3 separate regions of the Homo sapiens genome follow, and regions 1 and 3 are each linked to region 2. Evidence: promoter capture Hi-C in human tissues and cell types (Jung and others, 2019). All regions are on one chromosome and are shown on one strand. Each heading gives the region's core, a stretch centred on a gene start or on the middle of the fragment in contact. The rest is flanking DNA. Distances are from core to core; before and after follow the strand shown.

Region 1 (3,717 bases), core at 244-2,743, 280 kb before region 2:
CTACTCTCGCCCATTTTCTTGGATGTATTTCTTCAGAGGTCCTGACCCAGTGCTGACATTTGGCCTATTCTTAGAGTAGCACCTCTAAATATTAATTTCTTTTACCTTCCACTGGTTGAAGGACAACATTCAGAGGTAGAGGTTACATACAACATAAAAGAAAATCCTCTGGGATTTAGTATCCGTCTTTCAAGAGTGTCCAGAGGAATATGATCTACAGAGCTCATGGTCTTGCAGACATACACAAAGTACTGTTCAGCCACTTGTGTTTTACAGTTTATCCAGATTTGCTGGAACAGTCATGGACTTGTTTGAAAACACCAACAACCAAGGAGTGACAGACAGCATAGGTGAGAGGGCAAGCAGACCCAGAGAAGAAAATCAGAAGAGAAGCCTTCCAAATACAATTTCAAGGAGTACTTTTATCACTGTTTAAAGGTAAATCACCCACGGCTAAATATATGAAAGTCTCAAGATGTGAACTCGAAACTGTAAGATGGAAGGATACCGTTAACATATTTTTGAAAATCATGCTTCCTGCTCTTTATAGTCAGCTCTAGTTGCATCCCCCAAAAGGCCATATTAAACATTTAAATGGCAGTAAACTGAGGTCACCAGCTAAGGCTGTGTGATAAGCTTGCAAAGTATAGTTCATAAGGGAGAATTCAAAAATAGTAGAAATTATAGCTAGAAGAAACCTCCAAATATGATCTGGTTAGCCCTCTAGCAACATTAAGCAGTAAAGTGGCTTGGAGGCAGTAGAGAACAGTGGACTCTATAATACTGCAGATGAGGCTTGATTCCTGAGTCTGTCACTTAACAGCTTGTGAACTTGAAGAAGCTATTTTAATCTTTCTGAGCATCCACTTCCTCCTCTATAAAACAGAGATAACAATAATAATAGTACCCATCTCAAAGAATTGTAGTAGCTGAGACATGGTATTAGTTTAGTAAAAACTGCATATTATAATATATAATTATTATATTATTATTATTATCATGTAAGGCTTTATTAAACCCACTTCATAGATGAGGCAACTGAAGCCCATATTTCAGAAATTTGCCCAGGGTTATAGAGTGAGGACTTAGAAGAATAAGCAGCTCTTTTTCCTTCTAGGGTAGTGCTCTTTCCACTTCACTATGTTTCTCTTATTAATCAATACAAAACTGAAGCCTGAGGCCAGGCGCGGTGGCTCACACCTGTAATCCCAGCACTTTGGAAGGCCGAGGCAGGCGGATCACAAGGTCAGGAAATCGAGACCATCCTGGCTAACACGGTGAAGCCCCCTCTCTACTAAAAATACAAAAAACAAAAATTAGCCGGGCATGTGGCGGGCACCTGTAGTCCCAGATACTCGGGAGGCTGAGGCGGGAGAATGTCGTGAACCTGAGAGGCGGAGCTTGCGGTGAGCCGAGATCGCGCCACTGCACCCCAGCCTGGGCGACAGAGCAAGACTCCATCTCAAAAAACAAAAAAAAACAAAACAAAAAAACTGAAGCCTGAAAGTGAAGGATTTTCACTAACTAAATCAAATTCACAAAGTAAACTCAGGAGCTTCCATCATCCAGGTCTCCTTGTCTACCAAATTATACTTACACTATTTCCCATTCTGTCATACATCCACACCTTTCAGGTCTTCAAAAAAAAAGAAAACCCAAAAGTTTCTGGAGCTGGTTTACTTTTCACTTCTTAGAATAATTTACCTCAAGCCAATCTGGTGTCATAGACTTATGGAAGTGTCAGGTATGTGTCACTCGTATATTATGTAAATTTCAGCTTTCTGGGGACAAGAAACAGCCTGCTTGGCAAGTACATTTCTATCAGCACTGTAGAAAATCTTACGATTTTTTTTCAACAGTGTGTTGGTAGATAAAAGCTGCCTACAGTCAGCCTTACTGTTGGTTCACTACAGCTCAGCATTGGCTACACAGAACAAGTGGAATTCACTTTTGGAGTGCAAGGCGCACAGTATACAGCTTCTAAAATGGCACAATATAGAGCTTTACCACAAAGAATCAAGAAAGGGAGGAAAAGGGGAGGTTCCAAGATGGCCGAATAGGAACAGCTCCAGTCTACAGCTCCCAGCGTGAGCGACGCAGAAGACGGGTGATTTCCGCATTTCCAACGGAGCTTTGAAGAGGGTAATGGATCTCCCAGCACGGAGTTTGAGATCTGAGAATGGAAAGACTGCCTCCTCAAGTGGGTCCCTGACCCCCGAGTAGCCTAACTGGTAAGCACCTCCCAGTAGGGGCCGACTGACACTTCATACGGCTGGGTGCCCCTCTGAGACAAAGCTTCCAGAGGAACGATCAGGCAACTACATTTGCTCCTCTGCAATATTTGCGGTTCTGCAGCCTCCGCTGGTGATACCCAGGCAAACAGGGTCTGGAGTGGACCTCCAACAAACTCCAACAGACCTGCAGCTGAGGGTCCTGTCTGTTAGAAGGAAAACTAACAAACAGAAAGGGCATCCACACCAAAACCCCATCTGTACGTCACCATCATCAAAGACCAAAGGTAGATAAAACCACAAAGATGGGGAGAAACCAGAGCAGAAAAGCTGAAAATTCTAAAAATCAGAGTGCCTTTTCTCCAAAGAAACGCAGATCCTCGCCAGCAACAGAGGAAAGCTGGACGGAGAACGACTTTGACGAGTTGAGAGAAGAAGGCTTCAGACGATAGGTAATAACAAACTTCTCCGAGCTAAAGGAGGATGTCCGAATCCATCGCAAAGAAGCTAAAAACCTTGAAAAATGATTAGACGAATGGCTAACTAGAATAACCAGTGTAGAAAAGACCTTAAATGACCTGATGGAGCTGAAAACCATGGCACAAGAACTATGTGACACACACACAAGCTTCAGTAGCCGATTTGATCAACTGGAAAAAAGGGTAAGAGTGATTGAAGATCAAATGAATGAAATGAAGCAAGAAGAGAAGTTTAGAGAAAAAAGAGTAAAAAGAAACGAACAAAGCCTCCAAGAAATATGGGACTATGTGAAAAGACCAAATCTACATCTGATTGGTGTACCTGAAAGTAATGCGGAGAACAGAACCAAGTTGGAAAACACTCTTCAGGATATTATCCAGGAGAACTTCCCCAACCTAGCGAGGAAAGCCAACATTCAAATTCAGGAAATACAGAGAACACCACAAAGATACTCCTCGAGAAGAGCAACTCCAAGACACAAAATTGTCAGATTCATCAAAGCTGAAATGAAGGAAAAAATGTTAAGGACAGCCAGAGGGAAAGGTCGGGTTACCCGCAAAGGGAAGCCCATCAGACTAACAGCAGATCTCTTGGCAGAAACTCTACAAGCCAGAAGAGAGTGGGGGCCAATATTCAACATTCTTAAAGAAAAGAATTTTCAACCCAGAATTTCATACCCAGTCAAACTAAGCTTCATAAGTGAAGGAGAAATAAAATCCTTTACAGACAAGCAAATGCTGAGAGATTTTATCACCACCAGGCGAGCCCCTGAAGGAAGCACTAAACGTGGAAAGGAAAAACCAGTACCAGCCACTGCAAAAACATGCCAAATTGTAAAGACCATCAATGCTAGGAAGAAACTGCATCAACTAAAGAGCAAAATAATCAGCTAACATCATAATGACAGGATCAAATTCACACATTAACAATATTAACCTTAACTTTGGGAGACCGAGACGGGCGGATCACGAGGTCAGGAGATCGAGACCATCCTGGCTAACATGGT
Region 2 (3,562 bases), core at 769-3,268:
CTCTACTAAAAATACAAAAATTAGCCAGGCGTGGTGGCGAGCACCTGTAATCCCAGCTACTTGGGAGGTTGAGGCAGAGAATTGCTTGAACCCGGGAGGCGGAGTTTACAGTGAGCCAAGATCGTGCCACTGCACTCCAGCCTGGGCAACAGAGCGAGACTCTGTCTCAAAAAAAAAAACATTAATTCATTAGTCCATTCATTCATTCATTCGTTCGCATGCCAGACACAGAGCCAGGTACAAAGAGACATCTTGACCCCAGGAATGGGAGCAATGTCAGATGCTGGGGACTGCCTCGGCCTCCACCAGCCACACTCCAAACCCACCCCTGAGCTCTTCTCCCAGGCTCCCCTCCATGTCCTGCTCCCCAAACCCGTGTCAGTTGCTCACCTTCCAGACATGCAGCAAGCTTATCTCGAGGCGTCCTCGCTGTCTCACAAGCTGGAAAAGACCCAGGTGTTTACCTTTGGGATTGGGGTATGGCCAGGATGAGCTGGAGTCAGGGTGGATGGGATGTTGGTGAGAAACAGAAAGATGGATGAACAGATGGGAGGGACCAAGGAAGGAGTGGGGAAGGGGTGGATGGGTGGATGGCTAGGTGCAGCAGAAGATTCTCTGGGTAGAATTCTCTCACTGGGGTCCCCAGGCCTCCCTTCCTGGGGCAAATCCTTCCCGGTGCTCACCTGTGTACTTGGCCCAGAACACATCCTGAAAAACAAGGGCTGGGAGTGAGGCTACGGCAGCTCCTGTTTTGTGTTGTTTTAGTAAATGTTATGTCTCCTCCTCACACTTTCCTTTACCCTGGTCACGCAGGGGGCAGGCTCTGGGGAGGTTTGTGGCAGAGTTTCCTACTTTTGTTTCCAAAAGGAGAAGAATATTTGAGGATAGGGGAGTTCCTCCAACACACACACCGAGACTGAAAGAGGCTGGGGGAGATGGGAGGAGAGGGGGCAGTGGGACCCTGGCAGAGCCCTACAGACAGGAAAGGCGACACAGAGCTCCAGGAACACTGAGTCTTGAGCCCGGGGGCTTGTGGTGGCCTCCCCAGAGTCCCACCCCTCAAGGGTGGTGTGGGAGTCTGCCGCTGAGGAGGCCATGTGGACACAGAGCTCCAGGGCAGGTGGATGTCTGAAGACTGTGGAGGCCTCCCCATGTCATGGAGCTGCACAGGGACACAGTCCAGGCACAGAGACCCCCAGGAAAGGCTGAGGCCGCTCCTCTTGCCAGCCCTGTGAGGAGGGGCTCAGAGTTGAAATGAGGCTGTGAGCAGCGAAGGGGCTGTGGCGTTCCTCGCTTGCTTCTCTGTGGAAGTGTCTAGAGTTGGGCCCGGTCTGAGGCCCCGGCACCGTCCGAGCAGCCCAGGCTCACCGTAGCCGTGGAGGACTCCAGAGCCTCGAAGGCCTCCTCGTAGCTGCACGTCTCCTCCACGCACTCTCGCTCCAGGTTGCCCTTGCGCACCTCCTCCAAGAAGGTGTTGGCTCGCCGGACCCGCTGGAGCAGCGACCGTGCTTGCTGAGGAGCCAGGAACACTGTAAGGCGGTGGGGGGGTCATGGGACAGCGGCCTCAGGAACAGGCAGTCTTGGCCATTCTGGGGGCATGAAGCAAGCCCACCCTCCCCTGCTGGCTTCTGAGAGAGGCTGTCTGGGCTGGTGGAAGTGCCTGGAAGGCTGCTAAATGTGGCCCCCTGTGCCCCTCCTACACTGCCCCTTGCCCCCAGCCTGCTCCCTATATTGGAAGAGAGAAGCAGCCATTCTCTTTCCAGCCCTGAGCTCCTGACTTCTTCCCTAAGCTGGCCGCCTGGGGCTGAGACCTACTTAGGGGCCAGCTCTGTGTGCTCTGTCCAGCCAGGAGACCCCAGCCCATGGGCCCACACCCCAGTCCTCCAGCCTGTTCCAGCCTGCAAGCACTCCCTTACCATGCTGGCTGTGCACAAGGCTACACAGGGCAGCCAGGGCCAGGCAGCCAGGCAGCTGCAAGCCTCGGACGTGCGCCATAGTGTGTCAGCTCCTGGGTCACTGAGGAATTGTCTGTCCTGACCCCTCTGGGTTAATGTTGAACTAACATGAAGAAATCAGCGGAGAGGGTGAGGTCAGAGGGTCAGGGCCGTGGGGACGGGTGGGTAGATAGTCCTCCTGTCCATCTCCACCATCTGGGAGGACAGGTCCTCCTGGGAGCAGGGATGGATGGTCTAGGAGGAGTCACAAAAAAGGTCACTGTCACCCCCATCTCCCACCCTCCCCCTCTGAGATTTAGCCCATTCTGGCCAGTGGGGCTATGAGACTTTCCTGGAGCTCCTTCGAATCCTAACATATAGCGGTGGTTGCTTGTCATCTCTGTGTGCCTCAGTTTCCTCATCTATACAATGGGAATAATACTTTGTTGTGAGGACTAAAGGAGATTAGGAATGGAATGTCCATGGAATATCGTAAGTTCTTAATCAGATCTGCACATATAGGCCAATGTGGGGGTTTGTATAATCATAATACACAGATATCAAAAATAGAGACAAAGATAAAAGGTGTGGCCTGATGGAAGTTGCCCCTCGCCATGGGATGCACCAGGGATAGGAACAGCCAACATTTGCCCCAGCTTCTCAGCCACTGGAGGAGGGGCCCATTTCTCCTCCTTCCTGTCCAGGGTGCCTGGAGGTGTGTTTGTGTGTGGCAGCTGCCTGGGAGGAGTCAGGTCCAGGGACTCTTGGGCCTTTAGTCTATCTTCTGTCACCTCCCAGGACCTGCGCCTGTCCCGGAACAGGGGCTACTGAAATCCCTGGGTCTCCACTGAGGGGCCCTCCTTCTCCCTGGCTGCCTGCCCCATGGCAGGCCTAGAGAGGCTTCTGGTCCTACCCTACCCTCCGCCCTACTCCTGTCCCTCCCCCATTTCCTGTTTGCAGTACCCAAGGCAAATATTAGTCTAAGTAGGACAGAGGGACAAAGAGCAGGAACACGGGGAGGCACAAGTTCTCGCCTCGCCTCACCTGTCCTTTGGGCCTGGCTGTTTGGGGTCTGGACCAGGTCATGTGTGGGAACAGGGAGTGTTGGCAGAAAAACTGGGGACCAGGACTCCCGCAAACACCTTAATTCCTGGGAGGCCCATTTCTTATATATTTTCATATATATATTTTTAGGCCAGGCATAGTGGCTCACACTTGTAATCCCAACACTTTGGGAGGCCGACATGGCAGGATCGCTTGAGGCCAGGAGTTTGAGACCAGCCTGGGCAACATAGCAAGACCCTCATCTCTACCAAAAAAAAATTAAAAATTAGCTGGGAATGGTGGTGCATGCCTGCAGTCTGAGCTACTGAGGAGGCTGAGGCAGGAGGATCACTTGAGCCCAGGAGTTCCAGGCTGCAGTGAGCTATGATTGCACCACTGTACTCCAGCCTGGGTAACAGAGTAAGATCCTGTTTCTTTCTTTCTTTCTTTCTTTCTTTTTTTTTTTTTTTTTTGAGACGGAGTCTCGCCCTGTCACCCAGGCTGGAGTGCAGTGGAACAATCTCGGCTCACTGCAATTTCCATCTCCCTGTTCAAGTGATTCTCCTGACTCAGTATCCCAAGTA
Region 3 (3,556 bases), core at 484-2,983, 400 kb before region 2:
ATATATATATATATATATATTTTTTTTTTTTTTTTTTTTTTTGAGACAGGGTCTTGCTCTGTTGTCAGGCTAGAGTACAGTGGTGTGATCATAGCTTATTGCACCCTCGAATTCCTGGGCTGAAGTGATCCTTCTGCTTCAGTCTCCAGAGTAGCTGAGAGTACAAGCACATATCACTATGCTCAGCAATTTTTTTTTTGTAGGGATGTCACTGTGTTTACTATGTTGCCCAGGCTGGTTTCAAACTCCTGGGCTCATGCAATCCTCCCAAAGTGTTGGGATTATAGGCATTAGCCATCGTGCTGGGCCATTTTTCTAATCTTTAACCATATTTATTGATAGTTTTCCTTCCTTTCTACAGCCTAAGATGATTGTTTCCTCCTGGGAACAGTGTGGCAGAGCGGAAGGGCAGGCTTGGGAGACTTGAAACTCTGCCTTGACTTTGCCAGACTACCTCACTTGAACAAGCTACTTACACTTAGGGATCAATTTCTTTGTCTGTAAAAAAGAGATAATAATCAATTGCTATTTACTTGAGAGTAAAAGGCCAGACCTATGAGCCCATGATTCCCAAGGCTCTTTTAAGTTGTGAAGTCATAGATTGGATCAACTTCCAAAGCTGAGAATAATGGAATTTTTTTTCAGGTATCTGTACCTTACACAGTAATATCTAGTCAATTTAAAACTTAACTAATAGGCAATGCCAAATATCTAAATGTCAATAAGTCTCCAAGTAGGCAAGAAGATTTCATGAAGTCCACATACAAAAGCTCGTGTGGCTAACTTACAGGGTTCCAAGACATACTCTGATTATACTCGCAGTTTTAACAAGCTTGGCCACTAGTTTCTAAGCCCAATACAGATTAGACAGGGTAAACAAGGAGAGGAAAAAGAACTATAATTAGGCATTAACTACATGACCTAACAGAGAGGCAGAAAAATATATTTTAAATATAATCTGGATACATTTAGGGTACATTTCAGTGGGTCCTGAAGGCAATGATCTTTTCCAGCAGAGTAAAATAATTTATGATGACAAAGATGATGCTTAGATGCCTAGAGGAGTTAAATTACATAAGATGGCAGGGAAGGCCACTGTATACGTATCATATACATTTTAAAAAGATTTCCATGTAAGTTATATTAAAAACAACAAAAAATGTAACCAAATTTAAACTATAAAATAGTAGGCTGTAAAACTGTAAAACTCTTCTGCGTCTTTGGATGTTTACTGTCTCTAAACCATTTATTGATCACTGCTTCTGTAGTGCTTCATGGTGTTACCTGTTTTTAAGCTGCTGTACTGAGTGCTGTGCATCATTACTCTCATTGAATGTCTCGCAGCAGTCCTATAGGGTAAGTACTGTCCTCATTTTACTTGCAGACACAGGGCAGTGAAGTAATTTGCCCAGTTACGTAACTAGCAAGAGGCAAGCACATTCGAGCTTTGAATCATGGATCTGCCAGATTCCAAAGCGCATGCTTTTACATATTCCACTATTTATTGGTGGTTGAATTATTGATTTATTTGTCTATCTGACCCATCACCACCCCATCATTGTTCTCAGCATTGGAAGTTAGTCCACCCTGTGACTTCACAACTTAAAAGAGCCTTGGGAATCACAGGATCATAGATCAGGCCTTTTGCTCTGAAGTAAGTAATTGACTATCTCCATTTTACAGATAGAGAAACTAAGGCTTAAAGAGTAAGTGGCTTGCTCAAGTGAGGTAGTCTGACAGAGTCAAGGCAGGGTTCCAAGGTCCCATTAGACCAAGTCTTGAGGGTAGGGACTCCATCTCACTTGCTTATACATATCAAGGGGACTGGCACACAGTACACAGTTAAAAAAACGTTCAATGAATTTTATCCCTATGCCTCCCTATACAGATGTGAAACCCTAAAAGCAATGTAGTATATCTCAATGCATCTCAACATATGATCATGAATCACCTGTACCCTAAACCCACAGAAGCAAAATCAGAATCCCTGGGGTCAAGAGAGTGAGAATCCACATTTAATTAAATAGCTCAGGTGACTCTTAGGATTGTCCTCATGGTTGAAAGCACATTTTTTGGAGTTAGTCAATCCTGGGTTCTGGGTTCATAGCTCAGCTCCACTGGTTACTAGACAAATGATCTGGGGCAAGTTAGTTACTTAAATTTTTTGAGCTTCAATTCCATCATCATTAAGATGGGGATAAGGCCGGGCATGGTGGCTCACGCCTGTAATCCCAGCACTTTGGGAAGCCAAGGTGGGCAGATCATCTGAGGTCAGGAGTTCGAGACCAGCCTGACCAACGTGGAGAAACCCTGTCTCTACTAAAAATACAAAATTAGCTGGGCGTGGTGGTGCATGCCTGTAATCCCAGCTACTCGGGAGGCTGAGGCAGGAGAATTGCTTGAACCCGGGAGGTGGAGGTTGTGGTGAGCCGAGCTCGCACCATTGCACTCCAGCCTGGGCAACAAGAGTGAAACTCCATCTCAAAAAAAAAAAAAAAAAAAAAAAAAAGAAGTGGGCAGTGTTCCAAGATGGCTGAATAGGAACAGCTCCGTTCTGTAGCTCCCAGCATGACCTATGCCGAAGATGGGTGATTTCTGCATTTCCAACTGAGGTACCTGGTTCATCTCACTGGGACTCATTGGACAGTGGGTGCAGCCCATGGAGGGCGAGCTGAAGCAGGGTGGGGCGTCGCCTCACCCAGGAAGCACAAGGGGTCGGGGAGTTCCCTTTCCTAGCCAAGGGGAGCCGTGACAGACTACCTGGAAAAACGGGACACTCTCCGCCCAAATACTGTGCTTTTCCCAAGGTCTTAGCAACTGGCAGACAAGGTGATTCTCTCCTGTGCCAAGCTTGGCAGGTCCCACGCCCACAGAACCTTGCTCACTGCTAGCGCAGCAGTCTGAGATTGATCTGCGAGGCGGCAGCCTGGCTGGGGGAGGGGCATCTGCCTTTGGTGAGGCTTGAGTAGGTAAACAGAGCGGCTGGGAAGCTCAAACTGGGCGGAGCCCACCGCAGCTCTACAAGGCCTACTGCCTCTAACTCCACCTCTGTGGGCAGGGCATAGCTGAACAAAAGGCAGCAGACAACTTCTGCAGACTTAAACGTCCCTGTCTGACAGCTCTGAGGAGAGCAGTGGTTCTCCCAGCACAGCGTTTGAGCTCTGAGAAAGGACAGACTGCCTCCTCAAGTGGATCCCTGACTCCCATGAAGCCTAATTGGGAGACACCTCCCAGTAGGGGCCGACAGACACCTCATATATAGGTGGCTGCCCTCTGGGACGAAGCTTCCAGAGGAAGGATCAGGCAGCAATATTTGCTGTTCTGCAGCCTCCGCTGGTGATACCCAGGCAAACAGGGTCTGTAGTGGAACTCCAGCAAACTCCAACAGACCTGCAGCTGAGGGACCTGACTGTTAGAAGGAAAACTAACAAACAGAAAGGAATAGCATCAACATCAACCAAAAGGTCATCTACACCAAAACCCCATCTGTAGGTCATGAACATCAAAGACCAAAGGTAGATAAAACCACAAAGATGGGGAGAAACCAGAGCAGAAA

What was found. The method cuts DNA at HindIII sites, captures the fragments that hold promoters and counts their contacts. A contact is called where the count stands out against the background at its distance.
Region 1: a contact is called between a fragment that was not itself captured here and the fragment with the promoter of F2 in region 2, in 1 of the 25 tissues and cell types used here (dorsolateral prefrontal cortex).
Region 3: a contact is called between a fragment that was not itself captured here and the fragment with the promoter of F2 in region 2, in 3 of the 25 tissues and cell types used here (aorta, hippocampus and spleen).

The regions. Positions count from the first base shown.
Region 1 is chr11:46,996,501-47,000,217 of GRCh38, reverse strand. The region is part of intron 2 of CSTPP1 (centriolar satellite-associated tubulin polyglutamylase complex regulator 1); the gene reads right to left. LOC124902670 (a long non-coding RNA gene) reads right to left here and starts at 1,242. Exons shown (of 2, transcript XR_007062665.1): 1 at 1-1,242. The HindIII fragment of the contact is 3,277 bases long and covers 1-3,131 here.
Region 2 is chr11:46,717,669-46,721,230 of GRCh38, reverse strand. F2 (coagulation factor II, thrombin) reads right to left here and starts at 2,018. Exons shown (of 14, transcript NM_000506.5): 1 at 1,917-2,018; 2 at 1,369-1,529; 3 at 684-708; 4 at 391-441. The coding sequence starts at 1,995. The HindIII fragment of the contact is 9,646 bases long and covers 1-3,562 here.
Region 3 is chr11:47,118,556-47,122,111 of GRCh38, reverse strand. All of the region lies in intron 3 of CSTPP1 (centriolar satellite-associated tubulin polyglutamylase complex regulator 1), which reads right to left. Among named protein-coding and RNA genes, the nearest start is that of ARFGAP2, 57 kb to the left of the region's middle. The HindIII fragment of the contact is 3,678 bases long and covers 1-3,556 here.